7 separate regions of the Homo sapiens genome follow, and regions 1, 2, 3, 5, 6 and 7 are each linked to region 4. The links are contacts of gene promoters, found by promoter capture Hi-C in blood cells and fetal thymus (Javierre and others, 2016). All regions are on one chromosome and are shown on one strand. Each heading gives the region's core, a stretch centred on a gene start or on the middle of the fragment in contact. The rest is flanking DNA. Distances are from core to core; before and after follow the strand shown. Region 1 overlaps VPS35L (VPS35 endosomal protein sorting factor like). Region 2 overlaps GPRC5B (G protein-coupled receptor class C group 5 member B). Region 3 overlaps VPS35L (VPS35 endosomal protein sorting factor like). Region 4 holds the start of KNOP1 (lysine rich nucleolar protein 1). Region 5 overlaps GDE1 (glycerophosphodiester phosphodiesterase 1). Region 6 overlaps CCP110 (centriolar coiled-coil protein 110). Region 7 has its middle 8.6 kb from the start of GPRC5B.

Region 1 (3,731 bases), core at 366-2,865, 150 kb before region 4:
CCTGCCTTGGCCTACCAGAGTTGCTGGGATTACAGGCCTGAGCCACTGCACCCCACAACTTTTTTTTTTAATTTATTTTATTTTATTTTATTTTATTTTTTTGAGACGGAGTCTCATTCTGTTGCCCAGGCTGGAGTGCAGTGGCGCGATCTTGGCTCACTGTGACCTCTGTCTCCTGGGTTCAAGTGATTCTCCTGCCTCAGCCTACCTAGTAGCTGGGATTACAGGCATGTGCCACCACACCTGGCTAATTTTTGTATTTTTTGTAGAGACAAGGTTTCGTCACATTGGCCAGGCTGGTCTCGAACTCCTAACCTCAGGTGATCTGCCCACATTGGCCTCCCAAAGTGCTGGGATTACAAGTTTGAGCCATGCCGCCCAGCCAACTTTTTTTTTTTTTTTAACTTGACCATATGTCTTGGAGAACTATCCATGTTAGTACATTTAGAACAACCTTATTATTTTGACCAGCCGTATGGTATTCTAAAGACTGGATTTACCTATTTTAATTTACCATTCCTCTACTGATGTATCCATCAGATGGAGGATATCCCAGATAGTTTCTGGGTTTTGCTGGTACAAACAGCAGTGCAGCATGTGTCTCGAACACACACACATCTTGGTGCATGTCTGCAAGGATTTCTGCAGGATAGCTTCCTAGAAGTTCTTTGCTGGTTGGCCAGGCGCAGTGGGTCACGCCTGTAATCCCAGCACTTTGGAAGGCTGAGGCGGGCGGATCATGAGGTCAGGAATTCGAGACCAGCCGGACCAACGTGGTGAAACACCATCTCTACTAAAAATACAAAAATTAGCCAGGTGTGGTGGCGGGCACCTGTAATCCCAGCTACTCGGGAGGCTGAGACAGGAGAATCACTTGAACCTGGGATGCGGAGATTGCAGTGAGTAGAGATCACGTCACTGCACTCCAGCCTGGGCAACAGAGCGAGACTCCATCTCTTTGCTGGCATAAGGCAATGTGTATTTAAGGTTTTGATGGCTATCACCAAATTGTCCTCCAAAAAGAGTTAACCAGTCTGCATTTCCACCAGTGATGTTGAAGAGGGTCTGTTTCCCTGCATCCTTGCCAGCCTGACATCAGCCAGCATTTTAACTCTTTGACATTCTGATAGTTGAAAAAGTGGTCTTTTCCAACTATCCTTTCCTTAATTCTTAATGAGTTTGAGCATTTTTTGATATGTTTATTGTCCATTTATGATGAAATGGTCTGAATTTTTTTTTTGAGATGGAGTCTTGCTCTGTCACTCAGACTGGAGTGCAGTGGTACAATCTTGGCTTACTGCAACCTCTGCCTTCCAGGTTCAAGCGATTGTCCTGCCTCAGCCTCCTGAGTAGCTGGGACTACAGGCATGCACCTGGCTAATTTTTGTATTTTTAGTAGAGATGGGGTTTTACCATGTTGGCTAGGCTGGTGTTAAACCCCCGCCCTTAAGTGATCCGTCCACCTTGGCCTCCCAAAGTGCTGGGATTACAGGCGTGAGGCACCATGCCTGGCGCTGTAATTTTTTTTATGATAGTAAACCTTGAGACAAATCTCTTTTATTCCACAGTAAAGGACTATCTGGCTTCTATTTATATATGTATATATTTAAAGATCAAAATGATATTGCTGCTGAAGAGATTATCTTGCCTTTCTTTAGGACAGCTCCAGAAGGAAACGTGATAGAGATGATAACTCCGTTGTAGGATCGGATTTTGAGCCTTGGACCAACAAACGGGGAGAAATCCTTGCCCGGTACACCACTACCGAAAAGCTGTCTATTGTGAGTACCAGGAGACCCTCTCCAGAGTCTACTTTGGAGTTAGTAGTAATTTCTTTTTGTTATGTTGCTTCAACTCCTGGGCTCTGTAAGTTTCACTTATTTATTTATTTTTCTACTTCTCTTAAAAGCTCACATATAAGGCTTCATGTAGTATGTCAGTGTTGTTGGCAGAAAAATGTGCTGACAGGTTTCCCAAAAAAAAATGTTAAGGATCAGGGATGTGGCACAGGCCAGAGAAAGAATTAGAACAGCAGAGTCTTGTCTTTGGGAGGAGGTTTGAATTATGAAGGGAGGAGGTCGGGCACGGTGGCTCACGCCTGTTATCCCAGCACTTTGGGAGGCCAAGGTGGGCAGATCACTTGAGGTCAGGAGTTCGAGACCAGCCTGGCCAACATAGTGAAACCCCATCTCTACTAAAAAAATTAGCCAGGCGTGGTGGCGGGCACCTGTAATCCTAGCTACTCAGGAGGTTGAGGCATGAGAATTGCTTGAACCCGGGAAGTGGAGGTTACATTGCGCAGAGATCACGCCACTGCACTCCAGCCTTGGTGACAGAGTGAGACCCTATCTCAAAAAAAATTAATTAATTAATTAATTTAAAAAATGAATTAAGGGAGGAGAGCACAACACTGGAGGAGAAAGGTGTCACTCAGTAAGTCCCATATAGCTGGGTTTTCCCCTGGAGCTGGAAATTTACTATTTCTCTGGATGGCCATTAGGTGAAGTAGTTGGCTTTGGCCTCAAGACACTTACGAAATTCGAGGCTTACCCTTCACTTGGCAAATTGCTGTGGAAGGAAAGACTCAGGAGAGCTGAGACCAACCCAGTCAGGTTAATGCCTGTGTGAGTTAGGACTGGGTTCAGTTGCTTAGAACTAAAGCCCCTGCTAACATTGTAAACAAGAGTGACCTGTATCCCTCCTTACGCTGGAGAAAAGTCTCGAGGAGAGGAGTCCAGGGCTGGTTTGGCAGCTCCGAGGGCATCAGGGTTCCGCCGCATTCTTTCTTGCTCCTCGGCTGTGTTGAGTGTTGCCTCACATTCATGTTGGTAGACAGAGGGAGGAAAGGGAAAGAAAGATGCGCCCCCTCCCATTTAGGAAGACTTCTTGGGGTCCCGCAACACTTTTAGTTACATTTGTCTTGAAGGTGTGATCATGGGCCACGCATAGATGCAGGGAGGCTGAGAAATGTAGCAGCGTGTCCATCTACAAATGGGGCTGTGCCCTGGAGGAAACAGTGAACTTGGCAGGCCATGGGGAACGCTTGGCCTCAACGCCTCTTCTCTTCATTTTTTCCTCCCAGGGTGTGTACTCATTGAACAGAATGATAGGCAGAATTGCTGGACTATTTAAATTGAGTCTTTTTTTTTTTTAACTGTACAGAGTTAACTTAGAGCAGTGATTCTCAACCAGGAGTAATTTTTACCCCTGGGTCATCATTTGGCAATATCTAGAGACATTTTTGACTGTCACAGTTCTGGGGGTGGTACTGACATTTATTGGGTGGAGGCCAGAGATGGGGCTAAACATCCAACGGTGCACAGAATTAATCTCCCACAAAAAGTTATCTGGCCTCAAATGGCAGTAGTGTAGAGGGTGATAAACCCTGATTCAGAGTAGGTTAAAAATAGTTCTATTATGTGACTCCGCTGTCATATCAAAAATTTTAGTATTTGTCTGCTGACTTTGAGAACCCTGACTTGAGTAGAAATTTGAATCTCCAGTGGTTTTTAGTGACTGTATTTTTCTTCTTTGAATATATATTTCTTTCTCTTGGGTATGTAAATGGCTCTGTTGGAAAACAATGAACATACTGCCTTCGATTTTTAAAATATTAATGAATTTTATGTCTCTGCAGAATCTGTTTATGGGATCTGAAAAAGGTAAGATGAGTTTGTTGTTGTTTTGATGGGAAAATTCTGGCATTACTTTTAGTATAATTTTACAAAGGA
Region 2 (3,791 bases), core at 487-2,986, 140 kb after region 4:
GCTACAGTCTCTTGGCAAAGATGTCTCTTGATACTTTTCAGGTGTAGTCATTAGAAAAAGAACAGCTCTCTCCCTTCTCCTCTCACTCCCGCCTCCGCCCCCATTATGAAGGCGTTCAGCCCACTCTCAACCTTAAAAGCCAAAATAAAACAAAACCCTAAGTGCGATAACATATCAGATTTAAAAGGGGGGAAAAAGGTCTCATTAAATGAGGCTTCCCATGGCTCAAAGATGGCTCTGTTCTTATGCTGGGGAAGCACGACTTTCCATGGCAGCCATTTGTGCTGTGCTCACCTTATATGCTTGGACAATAAAGAACTTAGAAAACGAACGTGTGAATTGCTCCATCGTGTGAATGGTATCAGAAAGCTCCAAAGGACTCCAGAGAGCGGGGGTGAGTAACCATTTCCTGGCACGAGAATGTGTAATGCTGTCGTTTTTTCACCGGACAGGACCGAGGTGTTTGAAGATTTCTTTCTTTTCAGAATACCGGGTCCGCATGCAACCGCCCCCACCCCCACCCCAGGTCCTAGCTTCATTCCCTCCCACCCCTCCCCAGGACTCTTACGTTTTCTGTCCACGCAATGACTGGAACGGGATTCTCTAGAAGCAAGCACATGCTCTGGGCAGAGGCGGGGTGCTTCCGGGGAGGTCAGGTGGGGGTGGCATTCTGGGGCCATGCGTTTTCTTCCCCATGCGTGGTAACACAAGGAAATGTACTAACTGTTAAGGAAAACTCGAAGGCGGGTCACACAGGGAGGGCCAGATTGGCCTTACTTTCCCCAGTGCTTTGCAAGGATGGGGTGGGGAGGGGAGACAGCAGAGACTAGGGCCTTGAGAAATATCAAAAGGTTTATTGAAACATACTCAGCTCAGACGTACTGGCTTATGAAGCGGTCAGTCCTCCCCCGGCCCCCAAACACTAACCTTTTTCATTTTTCTTTAAAGGTTAAAGGCTTATGGGTAGTTTTATAGAAAAAGCAATGTAGTGATTAGAGTATCTGCAGAAGGACCCACCCTCATTTATACATTCCATGCCGTCAGGTTAAAACTCTGCTTTGAATCGATGCTAGAGGTTATGCTGGCCAAACAGTGCAGAGAACATGGGGGCTTTGAATGGCCGAGATGTTCGAAATGCTAAATAACAAAGGAATGACTTGCTCAGGACAGATGGAAACCATGACAGAAACAATGGGCTTGGAAAAGGGCTGTTTTCATGGAACCTGCAGAAAAACCAAAACAAAATATCCCCCACACCCTCCAAAAGCAACAAGAAACCCTCATGTGATCCATTCCATCCAGGAATTTTCACCATAGCAACGGAAAGGACCCGAGGTGTCACTGCTTGTGAGGCAGCGAGAGGTCATCTCTGCATCCTAGTGGGAACCCCTGAAGCCCTGCTAGGTGACATCATCGCGGAAAACCTGCCGTGGTGCCTGCCTTCCAACCTGCCTCCCGGAGGGGCTTTCAGCTGGAGACCCCATTGGAGCTCTTGAAATGAATAAGGGAATAAAATTGGGAGAGGATTTGGAGATACACCCGTAAGTGTAGGAACAGGGCGAGATGATCAAGGGAAGAAGGGACTGCTGCCCCAAGCCAGAATATTTCTATGGCTCTACAAGGGAAGGGGCGGGGCCTGTGTTCTCACCATAGACACTAGAGCAAGAGCCCCATAGAAGGAACAGTGGTTGATCACTTTCCAAATGTGATGGTCACTTCATCACCCAGAGGGCCTCTTCTTTGGCACATGCCAGGGTCCCTCCACCTCTACTGGCTATAAAGCTCACCCCACGATTCAGTTGGGCCTCACCTTGGAATCCCACCCACAACCTCCTTAACTCTCCTGACCCCCCTGAAATGTGCAAACCACCAGGCAAGCCGGTGGCAAAGTCCCCATTTGTCCTCAACGCAACGGTCATCTCCAAGAGGCTACCTGGGGTCCAGCACTTGCTGGGGAGAGGTGATAAGAGTGGGAGCCCCCCACCTCCAACCAACACCAGTCTGGCCCACCAGCTGTGAATTTGGTTCTGTTCTACCCCCAGAGGATGAAACAGTCTTCCCAGCCACATTTTCCAGTGAGCCTAATACTATTTGCAATTAGCTTTGCTTTAGTTTGCGGGGATTGAGGTTGGTCTGGTATTACGTGTCTGTGTGTGTGGCAGGGGAGGGGCGGGCAGTCGGTGTTAGCTTTTCAGTTCGTCAGTGTTCACATTTACACGAAATCCCCTTGGCTAGGATTTCCAAATTTCCTGGCTGTGAGGCGGCCTGGTTCGGCAACTGTTACCGATTTCTCCCTCAAGAAAGACACAGCCAGGGAGGCAAATCGGTAAGAGAAATTCTGATTCTCTGGAACTTAAAGTCTTTCACCAAAGGTGTCTTCCTGTGTGACTTGGCGGAGCAGTTGGGATCTGGAATAACACATAAGGATAACACACTGAGAACTCTGTGCTTTGCAAAGTCAACACTAGAAACCGATGCGTAAACAACGCGGCAAAAATAAGTTACCTTGCTTTTACCTAGATGGGTCGAATAATTCCCAGGAGAGGCAGCAATGACTGTGAGTCATGCTGCTGTGGTTCTTGGGAAGCCCAGCTCCCTTTTCTATAACCATCCACCCGTAAGGAATGTAAGTTCAACTCATTCACTTTCAGTCTTGACTATTTTTTCACACACTGGCCTTGAAGGAACCAGGAGGGCTTAAGAGTGACGGATGGGGGCTTTTCTAAGCATATTTATTATAACACACAGGCCGAATGCTTGTGAATCAGGCTTTTCTTGGCTCGGGACAATAAAACAGCCCAGTCGTTGGCAGGGGGTTTTAAGAATGCAAATCTGTGATTCTGTCTTTGAGCCTGTTCCAAACCAATGCAAACCAATGCCTAGCATACCATTCAAAAGGCCAGGAAAACCTAAATTCCCTCTAGAGATCAAAGACCATCCCTGATTTACATAAAAAAAAAAAAAAAAAGAAGAATGCTCAGGTTGAGTTATGGAGTTGGAACATGATATAAAGAATGGAAACCCAATTTACACATGTAAACTGGCTCAGACCTTGTTTCTGAAAGAAGCATGTAGCTATGTTTGGAAATTAAATGTGGAGATGAGAGTGCATCTTTGGATTGCTGGAGAAACAAAATGGTGTCATTCCAAGGAGGCAAACGTAAACAATGACAATTCTGCTGAAGGTCTGTTTGGCATCAGATAGTAGTAAACCTGCTTCTGTGTTTGAGGGAGAGAAACAGTAACTGCTTCAATTTCTTAAGACATCTCTTAGGGAATGGGAGAACCTGGTACCCAGCTGGGGAGGAGTCAACAGAGGGGTGACCGGGGACCTTAAACTAGGCTGGATGTCAGCAAAATCTGCTAGGGGCGCTCCATCATTCTGGGCTTTTTCCAAAAGTCACCTCCCAGGGACAGAGTGAAAGCCAAATAATTCACTGGGTCCAACAGCCTCAAGGATTACAAACTCTTTCAAACGAATCTACAGATGGTTTTCTAAATAGAGGTGGGTATTCTGTGTGTGGAGAAAAGGGGTAGAAAGGGAAAGAAGAAAAATAAAAGCATTGCATGCGTTTGAGCTGTGGCGGTCCTTGCAGGCCACATGGGCAGCCTCCATGGAGGAGTATGTCCCTGTTGAAGCTGCTCCCCGACACCGTAGACTCCTAGGCTTCCTACCCCCACATCACATCTTGATACTTACGGTCCCACCGTTGAGCACGACGGCCATCTCAGTTGGCTGATACACGTTGCTTCTAAACGGAGCGCTGGGTCTTTTCCCCAAGCTGCCACTG
Region 3 (4,210 bases), core at 821-3,320, 130 kb before region 4:
GACACAGGTTTTCAGACAACCAGATCTCATGAGAACTGTCTGACAGGAACAGCAAGGGGGAAGTCTGCCCTCATGGTTCAGTTACCTCCCACCAGCCCTTTCCTCCAACACTGGGGATTACAATTCGACATGAGATTTGGGTGGGAACACAGAGCCAAACCATGTTAACTATGTTTTTCTCTACTGAGATCTTGGCACTTTTGTTAAAAATCAATTGACCAAGGCTGGGCGTGGTGGCTCATGCCTGTAATCCCAGCACTTTGGGAGGCTGAGGTGGGCGGATCAGCTGAGGTCGGGAGTTTAAGACCAGCCTGACCAACATGGAGAAACCCTGTCTCTACTAAAAATACAGAATTAGCTGTGTGTGGTGGTGCATGCCTGAAATCCCAGCTACTTGATACTCAAGGTTGAGGCAGGAGAATCACTTGAACCCAGGAGGCGGAGGTTGCGGTGAGCCAAGATCGTGCCATTGCACTCCAGCCTGGGCAACAAGAGTGAAACTCCGTCTCAAAAAAAAAAAAAAAAATTAATTGACCACTGGTGGCAAATTCAGACTACTTAAAAAACAAAAAAACAAAAATCAATCGACCATAAATGTAAGAGTTTATTTCTGGACTCTCACTGTCATTCTGTTGATCCATAAGTCAATCCTTATGCCAGTTCCACATTGTCTTTTTTTTTTTTTTTTTTTTGAGACACAGTCTTGCTCTGTCACCAAGGCTGGAGTGCAGTGGCGTGATCTCTGCTCACTGCAACCTCTGCCTCTCAGGTTCAAGCGATTTTCATACCTCAGCCTCCCCAGTAGCTGGGATTATAGGTGTGCACCACCACACCTAGCTAATTTTTGTATTTTTAGTAGAGGTGGGGTTTCACCATGTTGGCCAGGGTGGTCTCGAACTCCTGACCTCGAGTGATCCACCCACCTCGGCCTCCCAAAGTGCTGGGATTAAAGGCATGAGCCACTGCGCCTGGCCAGTTCCACATTGTTTTGATTACTATGGCATTATAGCAAGTTTGAAACTGGGTAATATAAGTATGTATGTATGTATGTATGTATGTATGTATTTATTTATTGAGACAGAGTCTTGCTCTGTTGTCCAGGCTGGAGTGCAGTGGCATCATCTTGGCTCGGCTCACTGAAACCTTCACCTCCCAGATTCAAGCGATTCTCCCACCTCAGCCTCCCGAGTAGCTTGGATTACGGGCATCTGCCACCATGCCCGGCTGATTTTTGTATTTTTAGTAGAGATGGGGTTTCACCGTGTTGGCCAGGCTGGTCTCAATTCAAACTCCTGACCTCAGGTGATCCACCCACCTTGCCCCCCGCAAAGTGCTGGGATTAAGGCATGAGCCACCACGCCTGGCCTGGGTGGTGTAAGTCTTTTAACTTTTTTTTTCTTCTTCTTTTTTTAAATTATTTTCACTGTTCTGGGCCCTTTGCATTTCTGTATGAATTTTAGGATCAGCTTGTCAATTTTTACAAAATAAAAAAAACCTTCTGGGATTCTGACAGGTATTGCATTGAGTATGAAATCATTTTCTGATGCATAAATTTTGCCATCTGTTGATGAGCATCTGGCTCTGTTCTTTTTTCACTACATGGACAATGTCACTGTGAGCACGTTTGGTCACGTCTGCTGGTGCCCATGTAAAGCTTTTCTCTAGATAAGAGCCTATACCTAAGAGTAGAACTGCTCTGTGCCTCTTCAGCTTTTCCAGATAATGCTAAGTTATTTTCCATAGTAGCTGTGCCAGCATACGCTTGTAGTAGTATGTGGGCGTGTGAGAGTCTGTGCTATTCAACATTCTACCACCATTTGGTATGAGCAGATTTTCTATTTTAATTTTTCCAGTCATATTTTCTTGTGGTTTTAATTTGCAGTTCCTCGATTACTAATAAAAATGAGCATCTTTTCACATATTTATAGGCCTTTGGGGTTTCCTTTTCTGTAAAATGACCTTTGCTGATTTCTTTTGCCCATTTTTCCATTTTGTTATCTGTGTTTTTCGTACTGAGTTTTGCAATTTTTAAGATGTATTCTGGATAGTAATGGTCTACTTCTTTCCTTCCTACTCAGGTCATCTTTGAATGTATGCATTTGTTGTGGCTATTCAAATTTTTTTAACCTTTTTTCTGAGACAGATTCTTGCTCTGTCTTCCAGACTGGAGTGCAGTGGGGCGGTCTCGGCTCACTGCAACTTCTGCTTCCCTCGCTCAAGTGATTCTCCCACCTCAGCCTCCTGAGTAGTTAGGGCTACAGGCACACACCACCATGCCTGGATAATTTTTGTATTTTTTGTAGAAACTGGGGTCTCACTACATTGCCCAAGCTGGTCTTAAACTCCTGGGCCCAGGCGATCTTCCTGCCTCAGCCTCCCAAAGTGCTGGGATTACAGGCATGAGCCACCATGCCCAGCTGGGATTTGTATTGTTAACACATACCTGGGTTACCTGATTCTTATCAGACAAGTTTAGGAAGCGGCACCAAAGCTTTAAAAACTGTGGCATCTTCAAAACAGTAATTTAAAAAGTAACTTCAATTTATAAGATCATTATAGCTTTAACTTTGGATTAAAAACAAAATCTTATTCCTGTTGTCCTTTATAAAATATATGTTCTATGAAACCAGCTTGGGAGAAAATCAATGCACAGATGTTTGGGAAGCCCCAGCTGTGTTTAATTTGAAATCCTCTGTTTAAATTCTCTCTCTCTCACCTCACCAGTGGGCAGTAACTCATCTCTGAGAGACTGTCCAAGCCCAGCTCTGGGTAGAACTCAGAGATGTCACATCCCTAGGAACCGAGAACTGTGTATTGTAAACAGTCTCTGAGATTTGGAGTTGTTAGCTTTTTCCAGCCTTGAAATCTCATGGGGGCAGCTGTTTAAGTTGGAACTCTCACAAAGGGCATATGAAAATCGCAGAGCGAGGTGTCAGGAAATGGAATTCCACATACATCCAGTTGCCACGTTTGGTGTCAGCACTATTGTTTTTACAGCTTACATTCCCGCCCCGCCCCCCCCCCCCCCCCCACAAATAACATTTGGGCTGTAAGGGGATGTTTCGCAAATCAGACACGTTGTTTACTTTTAGGCCTGTAATGCTATGGAGAAACTTGGTGACTCTAACAATTTAGATGTTGGGTAACAACACCAAACTGAAAACACATGTCAACCTATCTCTTGACATGGTGAACGTTCTCACCATTCTCTGCATATTGGAATTGCATATTAAATAATCCTTTCTAAATGTCTGAACATCTTTTTTTTAATTTTTAAATGACATTTTTCTTTCTGAGGGTCAACCATTGAGGTGATGAAGTGTGGCAGTTATTTAATTCCTTATGCTGACTTTTGAATTTGTAAAGTCTTCAGGGCATGGCATTAAATTTAGTTCTTCAAAGTAGAAAGAGCTTTTCTGTTTCTGATGATAAAAGATAATCAAAGGTGTTTGGGGCCACATTGTGTGACTGCGGTCTTCCATTAAAAGTCCTGAACGCTAAATAGCAGACGAGTACTCAAAAAAAGAGTTCTGAACATGTTGGCCGGGTGCAGTGGCTCATACCTGTATTTCCAGCACTTTGGGAGGCTGAGGTGGGAGGATTGCTTGAGGTCAGGAGTTCAAGACCAGCCTGAGCAACATAGTGAGAACCTGCCTCTACATAAAATTAAAGAAAAAAAATTAGCCAACCATGGTGGTACATACCTGTAGTCCCAGCTACTCGGGAGGCTGAGGCAGGAGGATTGCTTGAGCCCAGGAGTTCATTGCTGCAGTAAGCTATGATTGCACCAATGCACTCCAGCCCGAGCGACAGAGCAAGACCTTATCTCTAATAAAATAATAATAAAATTTAAAAAAATTAAATAGTCCTGAACATGGCTGTGACCCTTTGGCATGAATGAGAATGTAGAATTCAGCAATTCCCCGCAAAGCTGAAATGTTTTCAGCATTGAAGGTCATATTTCCAGAGTAACATGTATTCACTGAAGCTTATGTTCCTTTTGGGGGGAATTTGGGACTGAGTATAAATAATCAGTGTGAGTTTATGAAGCCTTGGGGATTTACTTATGGGGTCATTTCTTAGAAAAGAATGTTTAAGGATGCTGATCACCCTGAAATCAACAGAAGAAGCCAGTCTGCAAAGCAATTGAACAAAGATGGGGCCACAGATGAGGACTGTGATGAGAGAGATGTCATTCACTTCTCTCAGT
Region 4 (4,086 bases), core at 652-3,151:
GAATAAGGTGTAATACAATGATACAGGTGATAAAAGCAAGGACAGTGCTAAGGTCAGGGTGGTGGAGGTTGTGGAACCTGTCCTACCAGTTGTCAGGAAAATTTCTGAAGAACAACTGCAGGATGGTGGTATTAATCCCTGAGACAAAGGTACTGAAGGCAAGTGGCTGAAGAACAGGCTTGATTGGACAGATGACTTGGAGATGTTCACTGGACAGGTGAATATATATGGATGAGGAGTTTGGGTGGCCGTGCTGACACGGGCGACATAAAGTTAGGAATGTATGGGTGGTGATAAGCCTTGAACAGAACAAGCCTGAGACAAGACTTCAAGAAATACAGTAGCTCGCCACCTAATCCCAGGTTTCCGTTACCCCTGGTCAACCCTGGTCCCAAAATAGGTGAGCACAGTACAGGAAGTTATCTTGAGAGGGAGACCACATGCATGCAACTTTTATTACAGTATACTGTTGTAATTGTTCTATTTTATTACTAGCTAGATTGTTGGTAATCGTTTACTGCACCTAATTTTTTGTGAGACAAGGTCTGGCTCTGTTGCCCAGGCTGGAGTGCAGTGGCATCATCTCGGCTCACTGCAACCTCCACCTCCCGGGTTCAAGCAATTTTCACGCCTCAGCCTCCCGAGTAGCCGGGATTACAGGCACATACCACCACGCCCGGCTAATTTTTGTATTTTTAGTAGGGACGGGGTTTTACTATGTTGGCCAGGCTGGTCTCCAACTACTGGCCTCAGGTGATCCGCCCGCCTCATCCTCCCAAAGTGCTGGGATTACAGGCATGAGCCACCACGCCCGGCCCTACTGTGCCTAATTTATAAACTTTCTCATAGATAGTATACACAAGAAAAAACAGTTATATTTAGGGTTCGGTACTGTCTGTGGTTTCAGGCATCCACTGGGGGTTTAGGAACGTACTGCCCGCGGATAATGGGGGAGGGGGACTATTGTATTGGCATTTAAATAAGTGGGCAGAGATAAAGGAGCTTGCAAAGAAGAAGGTGCAAACCTTGAAATAGTGTAGTCAGGAGAGCCAAGACGACTTCAGAATAGGGGAGCAGTCAAGAGAGCCAAGACGACTTCAGAATAGGGGAGCAGTCAAGAGAGCCAAGACGACTTCAGAATAGGGGAGTGGCCAAGAGATCTGGTAAGAACAAAGAATCCACCGGGAGGTTGCGGGTCAACTCTTAATCCCCTTCTCTCCCCATCTCTTGCCATTTAGAAAAGTATAGCATCCTCCTCTTTAGCCCTGCGACCAAATGCATTCACTCTTTCAAGGAGAAAGGAAAAGAACGTTACAGTGCATCTCCTGCAAACGCAAACGCTTTCTCCAAAACCGCTTTTAAATTCCAGGGACAGCCTTGTGAAGATCTTTGTGAATACCCGACCTCGCAAGCTCCAGAGACTACAATAATTCACTTGCCCTAGGTTCCAAAGCCAGCAAGTGGAAAACGGAGACTGGAATTCCGCCCACAGGACTCCAAAGCCTGTGCAGCAACACCCCACTCCCCCGGCAGGATCACCAGCAGGACGCGCGGGAGCCAGGAAGTAAGATCCGTACCTCCAAGGCTCCCATGGGCCCAAGCCTCCGCATCAACAGACTGGGAGGGATTACGTGGGGTCCCAGGGCCGGCTCTGAGGCGGGAAAACTTTCTGGAGGCGGCGGCCTCAGGCCGGAGCGGGCGCACACCGACTGGAGGGGTCGGATTCAGGGATGTGGGTGGACCGCATTTCCCCATCTTCCCCGCCGCGCACTTCCTCTGGTGCAATCTCCACACCCCGCGCCGGCCCGCCTGCAACGCGCCCTGGCACTCACCGGTGGGCGAAATTTCCCCGCCTCCACGTGAGAGCCAGCTCCGCCGTGACCCGGAAGTCCACTTCGAGTCGCCGGCCCACCCTCTCGGGTTCCGGCTTCTTCCGGGTCGCGGCCTTCCGGCGAACGCGGTTACCGTGGAAACCGCGGCCATGGCGGCACCGCGGCAAATCCCCAGCCACATAGTGCGCCTCAAGCCCAGCTGCTCTACAGACTCGTCGTTCACCCGGACGCCGGTGCCCACCGTGTCTCTCGCGTCCCGCGAGCTGCCTGTCTCGTCGTGGCAGGTCACCGAGCCGTCAAGCAAGAATCTGTGGGAGCAGATCTGCAAGGGTAGGAAACCTGGGCTGGCCGAGAGGGGCGGGACCCGGGCGGCCGGACGGGGGCCGCGTTTGGGGAGCGCCCACTGTGCGCCTGTCGGCTGACGGGCGGGGCCGCCGGGCAGCGGCTCCGCGGGCCCGGGCTCCGCATTTTACGCATGGGGAAACTGAGGCTCGGAGAGGCTGGCCCGAGGTTACGCAGCGCGGACTCCAATCGCGATCCGTAGTGAGGTTAAAGGCAAGGGAACGGCGAGGGAAAGCTGAATAAAGAGAACCATGCGGTGTGGACCATTGGTTCTTAAACCTCGGTTAGTGAACCGAAAGGAATTGCTGGGGCGGGGGCCGGGGTGGGGATCTTGTTATAAACGGAGGTTCCCAGGCCCCGCCCACAGAGCTTCAAATTGGGATGCAGGGAATCTGCACTTTTTAAAAGAGCACCCCAGGTAATCCTAACGTAGGTAGTCGGTGGCCCACACGTTCAGTAACCATGGTGTGGACAAACGGGTTTTAGTCCCTTCTTGCTTCAAACCTTCCTTAACCTCCCCAGGCGGAGTTGAGCACATCTTCCTTTGTGGCTCTACTCAGTATTTGTTACTTAGGTTGGGCAAATTATTTAACTTATGACCCTGTCTGCAAAGTGGGCATAATAATGGCACCTATTTCGATGGTGTTAAGAAGATGGAACCAGATAGTCACAAAAAGTGCTTAGCAAACTGCCTGATTTTAGGAGGGCAAAAGGATTATTGGGGAAAAAAAAACACAAACTGCTCGATTTACAGAAGGAGCTACGTAAGCGCTAGTTCTTAATGAATAATGTTGGGTGGGATGTTTTCTTTTTCCTCCACTAGACCATAAGCTCCTCAAGGTCAAGGACTCAGATTTTTCATTCGTGTGGCCACCATCACTACCTAAGCTGCCTGAAACAGCGCGGTGAAACCCCGTCTCTACTGAAAATACAAAAAAAAAATTATCTGGGCGTGGTGGTGTGCGCCTATAATCTCAGCTACTTGGGAGGCTGAGGAAAGGGAATTGCTTGAACCAGGGAGGTGGCGTTGCAGTGAGCCGAGTTTGCGCCACTGCACTCCAGCCTGGGTGACAGAGCGAGACTCCATCCCCAAAAAAAAAAAAGTGTGGTTAGTTAGCATTTGAAATGTGATTAGTGCAATTGAGTAACTGAATTTCTTGTTGGACTCAAATTTTTTTTTTTTTTTTTTTTTTGAGACGGCATGTTGCTCTGTCGCCCAGGCTGGAATGCAGTGGCACTGGCTGGGCTCACTGCAACCTCCGCCTCCCGGGTTCAAGCATTCTCACACCTCAATCTCCTGAGTAGCTGGGATTACAGGCACCCGTCATCATTCCTGGCTAATTTTTTTATTTTTGTAGAGAAGGGGTTTCACCATTTTGGCCAGGCTGCTCTTGAACTCCTGACCTCAGGTGATCTACCTGCCTCGGCCTCCCAAAGTGCTACAATTACAGGCCTGAGCCACCAGGCCCAGCCCAGACTTAATTTTAATAAATTTAAATAGCCACATTTGGATAGTGGCTGCTGTATTGGATAGTGCAGGTCAGTAAATGTTTATTGAATGGAAAAAAAGAATGAATGTACCAGTATATGCGATGACTCGAAAGAAGTGGAGAATACAGAGAAGGAAGAGAATAGTAGACTCAGTTGATAGATGCCCTCCAAAGCTGTCTGTTTCAACCCCATCCAGTACTTAAATTCCTTCTCCAACCTTACATTGTGCTAGAAAAATCCCTTTCATTTTGCATGTTCTCTTTGTCACTTTCACCCCTACGTCCTTACCTCTTGGTGCTATGATCCAAGGAGCTAATCACTCTACCCCAAAGAATCTACTCAGATAATTTGACGGTAGTTATTGTGGCTGCCTTTTCCCCAGAGCTTTCACTTCTCCAAGCCAAACAGTTTCTTATAATAC
Region 5 (3,681 bases), core at 270-2,769, 210 kb before region 4:
TGTGCTGATTAATTTTAAATTAATTGAAAGAATATTAATTTTCTTTCACTTCCTGGAAAGAACCATGTTCCTTCCTGCCAGAGCACATTACATGTATTTTTCTCTCTGATCTGGATTCCTCCCAATTCCCACTCACCCTTCAGATCTTAGCTTAACTGTCACTTCCTTGGGGATGCTGTTTCTGACAACCCAGACCAGATTAGATTATAGCCCATGCACAGTTTTCTCTGACATAGCCTGTATCTTAGTTTTAACTTTATATTGATTGGATTTTTATTTGATTAGCATCTCTCACTCTCCCACTTGGCTATAAACGTCACGAGGGCAGAGATCATGGCTTTGATTCTTTACCCACTGCATCTTCAGCTTCTCAACATGGAACCTTGCAATAGTATAGGCACTTACCAAATATTTATTGAACTGAATCATGTATGTCTGAAATAATACTAGACCTACAACTCTAATTAGCTGAAATATACAGATACAGAATTGCCAAAGAAATGATTCCGAGATCGCTAGCAGGTTAGGAAATGGAAATTTTATGGGGAGAGGTGGGGGAGTGCCTATAACATAAGACGGTAGTGGGGAGGCTGGTGCCCACAGGATGTCTTCACTGTGGTTCTGCCCAGGATCCTGTGTTGGCTTTCAAAAAAACCAGTCACAGAAATAAAATCCCTTGCTCAGCATAGTGTCACAGGTTCATTTTTTTTCTTCAAAATACACTAAAAAACCGAAAATATGTGATCGACTCGGTCTGAAAACAGTGAAATATGCCTGAACTCTTCCCACCTAAGAAGCGAAATTGGTAATCCAATTTAGAGGTATGGTAAGCTTTGCAGGTCAGAACCAATTCAGGTTGTCTACTCTGTTAATCCTTCCTTTCAAATAAGAGCATTCAGGATGTCTGTCTGGGTAAAATAAAAAACCTTCCAACTTACGGGGATACAAAATCCTTTTGCATGAGGAAAGCTGAAATTCCACACAGGTACCACAAGATATTATGCATGCTCCAATCGAGCAAAATGTCCATCATAACAAATATAAAATGTTTCCAGAAAGTATCATAGCGTGGTTTCCCATCTCCTGTATGGCTTAGGCTCCAAGGTCTGTGAGTTAATGCTGTTATTACATCCCGATCTGTTTGTCTCATCTGCAAAGGAATTTGGGGAAGTAAAATAATGATCATATGTAAAGTTGAATACTTATTAGTTTAGATTTAGCCAATGTGCTCAATCAGATGAGGTGGTCATGGTTGGTACCCTGCCCCGGTATCTACTAAATAAGTTCTCAATCATAAACCCTTTGAGAAAATAATGTGAAGAATGTAAAGCACTAATATGCAGCACATATGAGAACTTTTTTTTCCCAGTCCTTAAAAACTGCAATCCTATCTTTAAAATGGAAAAATTAAAACTTCAGGATCAAATTTTAATAATGTCATGAGAATAAACTTTTAATTGGCTATTGACTTAAATCCTGGCCAGAGATAATTAATTAGAACTCAATGAGGAGGGAACCAAGGTCAGTTCAAGATGGGCTGTTTAGTTTTGACCCTTTCCAGAGCAAATGGCTGAAGAGTTGTAGGGGTGAGGAGGGGGATGGGGAAGTGAGGTGGGAAGGGAGAGAAGGGATTGTGACGAGAGAATGGGAGAGGACAACAGAGAAATGGAGAGATGTGGATGGAGTTCCTTTAGTCTCTGCTCTTGTGCTCCTCTGGGGGAATGTCTTATACGTTTTAAAGGACTCTGTGGTCAAGGAAGTTTGGGAAACACTGTTCCAAATGTCTGCAAGCCCCATGACCCTATTCAACTCCATGACAGCTTCTATTGATAGGCTCTATCCTCACTGTAAAAATTTTCAATGTATGCTCTGTTGGTCACTGGTAAAGAATGCTACGGAACCAGCTTGTTATTCTGGAAACTGGTAAATAAAAGGAAAGATAAAGCATTTATTCTGCCTATTTGGTAACTAAATAGTAGAGGAGGAAAAGTTTCTTTTTAAAGATCTATTTCAGCTAATGCAAGAAGTAATAGAATTAAAATATCAGCATTTTGTAGCTCCCTAGAAAATGGACAGATCTGGCCAATGAGCATCAATAGCAGCCAAAAACAACAGGAGTCAACCAGATGTCAAGTGCCTCCTGACGGAAAAACACCCTCATCTCTAGAGTTATCTTGCCAAGAATAACCAACCCTAACCTCATCAAGGCAAGCTTCCAGCTCTCGCTACCAGTTTATAGAAAATAAAGAGAAAAAAATATTAAGCCATATCATGGCATAATCAGCAAAATTTGGACTTGGGTAAACTCTACAAAACAATAATCCGGTTTCTTCAGTAAATACAAAACAAGGACCCCCCCCAAAACAAACAAACAAAAAAAACAGAGAGAGAGAGAGACAGAACCTGCAAGTTTTAAGATTTACAGTTGCCGGCAGGGCATAGTGGCTCACACCTGTAATCATTTTGGGAGGCCGAGGCAGGCAGATCACCTGAGGTCAGGAGCTCGAGACCAGCCTGGCCAACATGGCAAAACCCCGTCTCTACTAAAATACAAAAAAAATTAGCCAGGCATGGTGGTGTGTGCTTGTAATCCCAGCTACTCAGGAGGCTGAGGCAAGAGAATTGCTTGAACCCGGGAGGCAGAGGTTGCGATGAGCCGAGATCATACCACTGGGCGACAGAGCAAGACTCCGTCTCAAAAACAAACAAAAAAAGATTTACGATTGTAACACGCCGATCTTACTTGGGTCCTATTCGAATGAGCAATTTATGAAAAACAACCATTTATGACATTTCCGAGACAAGTCAAAATTTATACACTGGATATTTGATGATATGAATAATTTATTGTTAATAATTTTTAGATGGGACAATGGCATTGTGGCTATGTTTTTAAAAAGGCATCACTAGGCTGGTTACTGTGGCTCATGCCTGTAATCCCAGCACTTTGAGAGGCTGAGGTGGAAGGATTGCTTGAGCTTAGGAGTTGGAGAACTGCCTGGGTAATACAGGGAGACCCTGTCTCTACAAAAAATAAAAATAAAAAATTAGCTGGGCGTGGTGACGTGCGCCTGTGGTCCCAGCTACTTGGAAGGCTGAGGCAGGAGGATCATTTGAGCCTGGAAGGTCAAGAGTGCAGTGAGCTGTGATCACACCACTGCACTCCAGCCTGGGAAACTGAGGGAGAACCCGTCTTTTAAAATAAATAAATAAATAAATAAATAAATAAATAAATAAATAAAATGGCATCACTTTTTAAAGATTCTTAATGCAATTTTATGGATGGAATAAGATTTGCTTCAAAATAACACTGGGGAGGATCAATGGGGTTATGGGTGAAATGAGCTGGATCACAGTTAAAGGGGGGGTACACTACTACTTTATTTTATGCATGTTTTAGATTCTCCATAATTAAGAATTTATTTTATGAAGGTATGTTCTGCTGTTAGTTGGTGAGAAGTAGGGGCTACATAATTCTTTTCTGTTGTGAGAATTTTACTACAGTAATCTGAGTGAGCCTATAAACAACATAAAAGAAGGGGCAAAAGAGGAATAATGGCATTCTGTAAGGGGTATGAGTACATTCCCCTTCTGGAATTTCTCTGGTTAATTTAAAAGAGGAGCTTCTCAACTGTGACCCTGATGCAGTTCAATTTAATAGGCATCTATCCTGTGCTTACG
Region 6 (4,198 bases), core at 77-2,576, 180 kb before region 4:
AGCTCTTAGGGCTTATGGGAAATACAGGGTTGGGTCAGACTGCTTAAAACCTGTGCAACTTTTTTTTTTTTTAATTTTTTTTTTTTGAGACAGGGTCTTGCTCCGTCACCCAGGCTAGATTGCTGTGGTGCGATCTCAGTTCACTGTAGGCCTGGGTTCAAGCGATTCTCCTGCCTCAGCCTTCCAAGTAGCTGAGATTTACAGGCATGCGCCACCACGCCCAGCTGTTATATTTTTTGTGGAGACAGGGTTTCACCATGTTGGCCAGGCTGGTCTCGAACTCCTAGGCTCAGGTGATCAGCCCTCCTTGGCCTCCCAAAGTGCTGGGATTACAGGTTTGAGCCACCAGCCCTGGCCCATCCTGTGCAACTTTATAAGAGCTCTAATAAAAACAACCACTGTTACCTGGGGAGCCAACTTGGATCCTCCAAGTAGATAGCATAGCAAGGCAAGAGGCTGCCTCAGTGAATATCAGAAGTACATAAGACCAACAGAGTGGAAATTTCTTTTTTTTTTTTTTGAGATGGAGTTTCACTCTTGTTGCCCAGGCTGGAGTGCAATGGTGCGATCTCAGCTCACTGCAACCTCCGCCTCCCAGGTTCAAGCGATTCTCCTGCTTCAGCCTCCCAAGTAGCTGAGATTACAGGCATGCGCTTGTATTTTTTCAGTAGAGATTCGGTTTCACCATGTTGGTCATGCTGGTCTCGAACTCCTGACCTCAAGTGATCCACCTGCCTTGGCCTCCCAAAGTACTGGGATTACAGACGTGAGCCACCACACCTGGCCCATACTTGGTATTTGTACATTTCAACATGTCTTACCACATTCTATTTAGGAAGCTTGTATTGTCATAATGTTTTCTCTTAGTTAGTAACTAAATATCTGGAATTTTAACGTCCAGTCCTTTTTGAAACCTCAAGCTGAGAAAGCTTTATACCATCAAGGAAACACTTTCTTTGAAAATCAAAACAAGGCAAAACTACAAGCTACACTACCAGAGATCCTGGAGGACAAGTGTCAAAAAAACAAATGATGGTAGGATGCAGTTGAGGACCACATCTGAAAGTTAAGTAGAGTCAGGAGAATCTTGTCTGAATATATAGTCCTGGGTCTGTCATTTCAGATCAGGATGGGATCTGTTGAATGAGTGGGTAAAGGTGATGCAATACAGGTCTTACTTTATTGAGTAGCATGAAATAAAAGGAGTGTGGTTCGAAGTAGAGACCCAGCTATATCTTGATTGTATTATGTCAGATCCAGGAATACTCTCTTGTCAGAAGGATAATTTAAATTGATGGTATAAAATATCAGACATTAGACTTGTGAATTTTCTAAATTGAGGAAACATGTTTCTTTTCAGAAAGCGAGGAGTTACTAAAAAGCAAGATGTTAGCTTTTGAAGAAATGCGGAAGAGACTAGAAGAACAGCACGCCCAGCAATTATCACTACTCATAGCTGAGCAGGAAAGGGAACAAGAAAGACTGCAAAAGGTGAGGAATGTGGAGGGAGATACAACTGGTAAGTGAAATTTAGCCAAGGATACCTATGAATTTTGGTCATGTATAGAATACGTGTAATTTTTGCCTCCATATATCTTAAGGTAAGGGAGTCATTTTGATACGTGAATGGTATTTTTTGTCAAAATATGAATTTTGATATTTAGATCCTTATCTAAAAGTAATTGCATAATTTATCGAGAATATTTTATTGAATCCTTGATTTAAAGCTTAATATTTTAAAAAGGTATTTTATAAATAGGTGCTAAAGTACACATTCTGCAGGAGTTGTATCATAAAAATGACACTCATGCTGGGCGTGGTATCATGAGCCTGTAGTCCCAGCTATGCAGGAGGCTGAGGTGGGAGGATTGCTTGAGCCCAGAAATTCAAGGCTGCAGTGAGCTATGATTTCGCCTTTGTCTAGCCACTGCACTCCAGCCTGGGCAACAGAGGGAGACCCTGTCTCTATAAAAAGAAAAAAAAAAAGAACGACACTTGTTATAATATTATTATAATTAATAATTTAACTATACATTATCACATATTAAATTATAGCCTGGGCGTGGTGGCTCACGCCTGTAATCCCAGCACTTTGGGAGGCCGAGGTGGATGGATCACCTGAGGTCAGGAGTTTGAGACCAGCCTGGCCAACATATAGTGAAATCCCATCTCTACTAAAAAATACAAAATGGTGGTGTATGGACCTGTAGTCCCAGCTACTTGGGAAACTGAGGCAGGAGAATCACTTGAACCCGCAAGGTGGAGATTGCAGTGAACCGAGATCGTGCCACTGCACTCCAGCCTGGGGGACAGAGCGAGATTCTGTTTCTTGAAACAAGAAAGAGAGAGAGAGGAGAGAGAGAGAGAGAGAGAGAGAGAGAGAGAGAAAGGAAGGAAGGAAAGAAAAGAAAAGAGGGAGGGAGGGAAGGGAAGGGAAGGGAGAAGGAAGGAAGGATAATTTGAGGAAGAAAAACTTGAAATAAATAATAATTGCTGATAATTACATGTACTTTTGGCTAAGCCTAAAATGATATCATTTTGGGACATAATTAAAAGGTTTAGCATGTTACAATAAACTGTTCATGTATAGGAAATAGAAGAGCAGGAGAAAATGTTAAAAGAGAAGAAGGCAATGACAGCGGAAGCCTCTGAGTTGGACATTAACAATGCAGTGGAATTAGAATGGAGAAAAATAAGTGACTCTAGTTTGCTGGAAACAATGCTGTCTCAAGCGGACTCACTCCATACTTCAAATTCAAATAGTTCTGGTAAATATTTAAAAATCCTTTTACATTTGGGAAAGTGATCCTACGGTAAGATATTTATTTGGCACACTATAAGATTATATCTCCTGTTTTCAAATGATTCCATGTCCAACCCTCTTTGCCAGCTGCTTAGTAACCAGTGAAAAATGACATGATAGGAGATCAAAGACTTGTGAGCAGATGTTTGTGAACAAAGATTACCTTTGCCAGGAAAAGATCAGGAAATTTGGCTTAGAGCCCAGTCTGATCATTCATGCAGCAGGTGATATACTTCAAGTGAAAACAGTTTGCTCTCTCCTGAGTGATCTTGAATTACCTCTAATTCCCTAGTCCCTTTAAATAGCTTATCTTCATATCTCAATTATCCTGAGATGCTGTTTGTGTTGAAAAGATCCACCTGGTATGTAAGCTTTAAAGTCCATAAATATTTTAAGTCGGCAGGTAGGTCATTTTTGGAGGCAGTTGTTATTCTTAATGAGTGTCACAAGTGTTTATTGGGATGTTCTTCGTATTCTAATTATATGACATCAAGTATAATACTATATGTATGTTTCTCTAGGTTTCACAAATTCTGCCATGCAATATAGCTTTGTTTCTGCAAACGAAGCACCATTCTACCTCTGGGGATCATCAACTAGTGGCTTGACCAAACTCTCAGTAACAAGGCCTTTTGGAAGAGCCAAAACTAGATGGTCTCAAGTGGGTAAACTTAATGATACATGTCCATCTATCTATTTATCTTTTCTTAAGAGCTATATTATCTTAGACTGTATAAATGAACACCAATAAACATTGTGTCTGTCTTCTTTCTCCTAGGTTTTTAGTCTGGAAATACAAGCAAAATTTAACAAAATAACTGCAGTGGCAAAAGGATTTCTTACTCGTAGACTTATGCAGACAGATAAGCTGAAGCAACTTCGACAAACTGTAAAAGTAAGATTCCTGTAAATCGTTTGTATTTCACTTCTGTCTTAGTTTCTATCAGTCTTGTGACAGCTGAGCTAACAGATTAGTTCAGAACTTAAACGCTTTTTAGTCACTGTAATCTAGGCAGTTTTAGAAGTCTGATTGTTTGTTGCGGGAAGTCAGGGACCCCGAATGGAGGGACCAGCTGGAGCCGCAGCAAAGGAATATAAATTGTGAAGATTTCATTTTAATATGGACATATATCAGTTCCCAAATAACACTTTTATAATTTCTTACTCCTGTCTTTACTTCAATTGCTGAACATAAATTGTGAAGATTTCATTTTAATATGGACATTTATCAGTTCCCAAAATTAATACTTTTATAATTTCTTATGCCTGTCTTTAATCTCTTAATCCTGTTATCTTCATAAGCTGAGGATGTAGGTCACCTCAGGACCACTATTGTGTTAACTCTACAAATTGATTGCAAAACATGTGTGTTTGAACAATAGGAAATCAGTGCAA
Region 7 (3,909 bases), core at 129-2,628, 170 kb after region 4:
AAACCCAATCCCAGGGCCAGATAGAAAGTGTGTGGCCCCTTTCCCTTCTCCCCTCCCCTCCTTTTCTCCTGACGCAAATCTGTCACAGAAGCAGCTCTCTATCTTCATAGAAGGTTTCTGCTTTACCCTTTGGGAGGCCGAGGTGGGCAGATAGCCTGAGGTCAGGAGTTCGAGACCAGCGTGGCCAACATGGTGAAACCCTGTCTCTACTACAAATACAAAAAAATTAGCTGGGCATGGTGTCACATGCCTGTAATCCCAGCTACAATGGAGGCTGAGGCAGGAGAATCGCTTGAACCTGAGAGGCAGAGGTTGCAGTGAGCCGAGATCACGCCACTGCGCTCCAGCCTCGGCAACAGAGTGAGACTCGGTCTAAAACAACAACAACAAAAAAAGGTTTCTGCTTTGTCATTTCACTACTAGAAGTTCCCTTGCTGTGTCCCCAAAACAAAGGAACTGTCTGTCCCCCCCAAAGACAAACTCAAGCCTCTACCCCTATGTAAAACAAAGAATGATTTGAATGGTTGCAATTCTAGGTTATTTATTTATAGGCGTCTATGAACTTCCTGGTGGAGGTTTAAGAAATGTTGGACCATTTATCTTTACTCGGTTATGAAGCTTAGAGTGATGTGGGATCCACTTTAAGAGAAAGGGTGGAGGCAGGGCCTGGATGTGCCAGCCCCAGAGCCCAGGCTGTAACCACTGCCCCATCCTGCTGTTTTACCCCCGGGCAGGAATCCTCTGATCAGCTTCACTTTCTCTTAGTTTTTCCTTATGACACTGTGATGTACTTCCAAATCACCAGGCTCTTGTCCACATGAACACTCTGGTTCAGAGGGTGGGAGAGGATTCGTACCCCCAAAAGCTCCCAGCTGGGCTGTCAGACCCAGGACCTCACTCTCAGTGGCAAGACCTTGGCCCAGTTCTTCTCAGTCCTGGCTGCTCATGAGAATCACCTGAGTCAAAAAAAAAAAAAAAAAAAAAAAAATTAGGTGCCTGGGTCCTCTCCTGGACCAATTCAATTAAGTGAGAATCACTGGGTCTGGAGGCTGAAGCAGGCTCAGACCATTGCTAAACAGGGTGGGAGGAGATGTCAGAAACACTGAGGATAGAATCTCCGGGTGGCCATGTCATCTTAGAGAAATCACTTAGTTTTTCTGCATCTTGGTTTCTGCATCTGTGAGATGAAGGGCTCTTAATAGTCTCCACCTGTTAGAGCTGAGTGAGACGCAACCAACTGGACTCAGCCAGTGCCCGGGAGGGGTCAGGTGTTGTGGTTTTAATTTAAAAGGGCTTGAAGGAGATTTGGATCAAGAAAGCAAACCTGATCTCCAGTTACTCGTTATTCCTTTGGTGAGTACGAATGCGGTGAAAACATGAAAATATGCCTGTTTCTTTCTACTCTCTTTCCTCAATGTACCAAGTGGTTCTTGAAGTGTTGTCCAGAGAACCTCTCTGGAGGTCTGCAGGATCAAAACTGTTTGCATAATAGCACTAAGACCTTATTTTCCGCTTTTACCGTCATTCTCTCACGAGTGTACAGTGGAGTTTCCCAGTGGCTTTTGGAGATGTGATGTTGCAACAGGCCGATGGCGGGAGCAGGCGTGACAGTCCCGCTGTCCTCTATTAAGTCAGATATTTCGGAGGTTCTCAAAAATGTAAACTATTGCTGTGCTTCTCACTAATTTTCACGCACGTCCATGTGAAAGACCACCAAACAGGCTTTGTGTGAGCAGTAAAACTTTTTAATCACCTGGGTGTAGGCGGGCTGAGTCCGAAAAGAGTCAGTGAAGGGAGATAGGGGTGGGGCCATTTTATAGGGTTTGGGTAGGTAAAGGAAAATTAGTCAAAGGGGGTTGTTCTTTGGCAGGCAGGGGCGGGGGTCACAAGGTGGCCAGGAGAAGGAATTTCACAAGGTTAATCGCTCAGTTAAGGTGGGGCAGGAACAAATCACAATGGTAGAATGTCATCAGTTAAGGCAGGAACCGGCCATTTTCACTTCTTTTGTGATTCTTTACTTGCTTCAGGCCATCTGGACATATAGGTGCAGGTCGCAGGGGATACAGTGGATTAGCTTGGGCTCAGAGGCCTGACACTAATGGCTTTTTCCTTTAGAAAATACAGTTATTCTTCATAAAAAAGCTTTTATGTTAACATGTAATAGGTTTATTGTATGAATATTTTTAAATTTCCTTGGCTTTAATTTGAAATAGGGTGAATATTGGTAGGTATTTACTCGGTACTTACCTACTAATATTACCTCCTCCAAGTCCTTTAATTTTATTTATTTATTTAGTTTTTTGAGATGGACTCTCACTGGGTCACCCAGGCTGGAGGGCAGTGGCGTGATCTCAGCTCACTGCAAACTCCACCTCCTCTCAGGTTCAAGTGATTCTTGTGCCTCAGCCTCCTGAGTAGTTAGGATTACAGGTGTGCACCACCACACCTGGCTAATTTTTTGTATTTTTAGTACAGACTGAGTTTCACCATGTTGGCCAGGTTGGTCTTGAACTTCTGACCTCAAGCAATCCACTGGTCTTGGCCTCCTAAAGTGCTGGGATTACAGGTGTGAGTCACCATGCCTGGCCTCCAAGTCCTTTTAAATAAGAACAATAGCTCTTAATCTCTACTGGGCACTGACTCTGTCTGAAGCGGGATATAAAGTATTGGCATATACCTAAACAGAAGCTCTTTGGGGGTCTTCCACCAATTTATCAGTTTGAAGAGTGTGAAAGTGTCCCAAGACCATGAAGATTGAAAACCACCACTCAAGGAACAATTATTTAGAACCATCTCTCCAAAAGAGTACAAAAGAGTAACAAACAGTTATATAGCATTTACAGTTTGCCAGGCACTGTTCTTTTTTTGTTTTTTTTTGAGATGGAGTCTTGCGTTGTCACCCAGGCTGGAGTGCAGTGGCGCAATCTCAGCTCACTGCAACCTCTGCCTCCCAGGTTCAAGTGATTCTTCTGCCTCAGCCTCCCGAGTAGCTGGGACTACAGGTGCATGCCACTATGCTTGGCTAATTTTTGTGTTTTTAGTAGAGATGTGGTGTCACCATATTGGCCAGGCTGGTCTCGAACTCCTGACCTTGTGATCTGCCCACCTCGGCCTCCCGAAGTGTTGAGATTACAGACATGAGCCACCATGCCCGGCCCAGGCACTGTTCTAAACACTTTGTATACACACACACGCATACAAATAAACTTTCTGATTCTCATGACAATCCTATAATGTGTACTATATCCCCATTTTACAGAAGTGCAAATCGAGGCACAGGGAGTTGCTCAAGTCCCCTGACAGAGGCCATGGGCCTGGGCTTCGTGTGCAGAAGAGCCTCCTCTAGAGGTCCTCCTGCCAGTTGGACCTTGTCTCTGTTCTGTCCCACTGCTGGGAAGGGGAGAGTCCTCTTCCTCCTCCTCCTCCTCCTCCTCTCTCTCTCTGTTTTCACATTTCTTACTGAGGGCTTGGCCCAGCCAACTGTGAAAGATTGTACCAGACAGGGCAGGCTGAGGTGGGAGCTGCGAGGTGGGGAAGGGAGCCTGAGGTGACTCGAGTTACATAAGGGCCCCTGGGACAGGGGACAGTTATATAATGGTGGGGAGAGGAGGGCAGGGATGGCGCAGTGAGTCAGGGCTAGGGAAGACACTGGGAGCTGGAAGAGGAAAGAGGAGGACAGGGCAGAGGAAATTGTCCGTTGCTAGCCAGGGTGGCTGCCATGCAGGAGGAAACCGGGACAGGGGATCGGGGCAGTTCTTCCATCCTGTTGCTGCCCCCAATGCCAGGGCCCCTGCCCTCACAGGCTCCATCCTCCACTCTCCTGGCCCCACTGAGTACAGATGATTCTGGAAGTCCTCTCATATATTTTTACCAAACTCCTTGACTGTTTAATTAACCAGAGCCCATTTC

Evidence for each region. Contacts are between HindIII fragments. The CHiCAGO score rates a contact against its expected background, and 5 or more counts as called.
Region 1: a contact is called between a fragment that was not itself captured here and the fragment with the promoter of KNOP1 in region 4, in 1 of 17 cell types (naive CD8 T cells). The highest score is 7.4, in naive CD8 T cells.
Region 2: a contact is called between a fragment that was not itself captured here and the fragment with the promoter of KNOP1 in region 4, in 3 of 17 cell types (endothelial precursors, naive CD4 T cells and total CD4 T cells). The highest score is 9.6, in endothelial precursors.
Region 3: a contact is called between a fragment that was not itself captured here and the fragment with the promoter of KNOP1 in region 4, in 3 of 17 cell types (total CD8 T cells, naive CD4 T cells and activated CD4 T cells). The highest score is 5.5, in total CD8 T cells.
Region 5: a contact is called between a fragment that was not itself captured here and the fragment with the promoter of KNOP1 in region 4, in 1 of 17 cell types (total CD8 T cells). The highest score is 6.6, in total CD8 T cells.
Region 6: a contact is called between a fragment that was not itself captured here and the fragment with the promoter of KNOP1 in region 4, in 1 of 17 cell types (fetal thymus). The highest score is 6.0, in fetal thymus.
Region 7: a contact is called between a fragment that was not itself captured here and the fragment with the promoter of KNOP1 in region 4, in 3 of 17 cell types (activated CD4 T cells, naive CD4 T cells and total CD4 T cells). The highest score is 5.8, in activated CD4 T cells.

What each region holds. Positions count from the first base shown.
Region 1 is chr16:19,571,461-19,575,191 of GRCh38, forward strand. It overlaps VPS35L (VPS35 endosomal protein sorting factor like), which reads left to right. Exons shown (of 31, transcript NM_020314.7): 4 at 1,659-1,781; 5 at 3,638-3,662. Among named protein-coding and RNA genes, the nearest start is that of VPS35L, 18 kb to the left of the region's middle. The HindIII fragment of the contact is 6,290 bases long and covers 1-3,731 here.
Region 2 is chr16:19,858,137-19,861,927 of GRCh38, forward strand. GPRC5B (G protein-coupled receptor class C group 5 member B) reads right to left here. Exons shown (of 4, transcript NM_016235.3): 3 at 3,701-3,791; 4 at 1-2,408. The coding sequence ends at 2,364. It overlaps IQCK (IQ motif containing K), which reads left to right. Exons shown (of 9, transcript NM_153208.3): 9 at 1-331. Among named protein-coding and RNA genes, the nearest start is that of GPRC5B, 25 kb to the right of the region's middle. RefSeq lists enhancers at 50-1,249, 2,523-3,104, 3,685-3,791. The HindIII fragment of the contact is 6,338 bases long and covers 1-3,791 here.
Region 3 is chr16:19,587,126-19,591,335 of GRCh38, forward strand. All of the region lies in intron 7 of VPS35L (VPS35 endosomal protein sorting factor like), which reads left to right. Among named protein-coding and RNA genes, the nearest start is that of VPS35L, 34 kb to the left of the region's middle. The HindIII fragment of the contact is 837 bases long and covers 1,653-2,489 here.
Region 4 is chr16:19,716,326-19,720,411 of GRCh38, forward strand. KNOP1 (lysine rich nucleolar protein 1) reads right to left here and starts at 1,902. Exons shown (of 5, transcript NM_001012991.3): 1 at 1,833-1,902. IQCK (IQ motif containing K) reads left to right here and starts at 1,946. Exons shown (of 9, transcript NM_153208.3): 1 at 1,946-2,162. The coding sequence starts at 1,982. RefSeq lists an enhancer at 1,826-2,155. The HindIII fragment of the contact is 12,693 bases long and covers 1-4,086 here.
Region 5 is chr16:19,503,943-19,507,623 of GRCh38, forward strand. GDE1 (glycerophosphodiester phosphodiesterase 1) reads right to left here. Exons shown (of 6, transcript NM_016641.4): 5 at 939-1,150. Among named protein-coding and RNA genes, the nearest start is that of GDE1, 16 kb to the right of the region's middle. The HindIII fragment of the contact is 1,381 bases long and covers 830-2,210 here.
Region 6 is chr16:19,539,297-19,543,494 of GRCh38, forward strand. It overlaps CCP110 (centriolar coiled-coil protein 110), which reads left to right. Exons shown (of 14, transcript NM_001323572.2): 5 at 1,361-1,491; 6 at 2,591-2,768; 7 at 3,325-3,464; 8 at 3,582-3,698. Among named protein-coding and RNA genes, the nearest start is that of VPS35L, 14 kb to the right of the region's middle. The HindIII fragment of the contact is 798 bases long and covers 928-1,725 here.
Region 7 is chr16:19,891,523-19,895,431 of GRCh38, forward strand. No RefSeq gene overlaps it. Among named protein-coding and RNA genes, the nearest start is that of GPRC5B, 8.6 kb to the left of the region's middle. The HindIII fragment of the contact is 1,524 bases long and covers 617-2,140 here.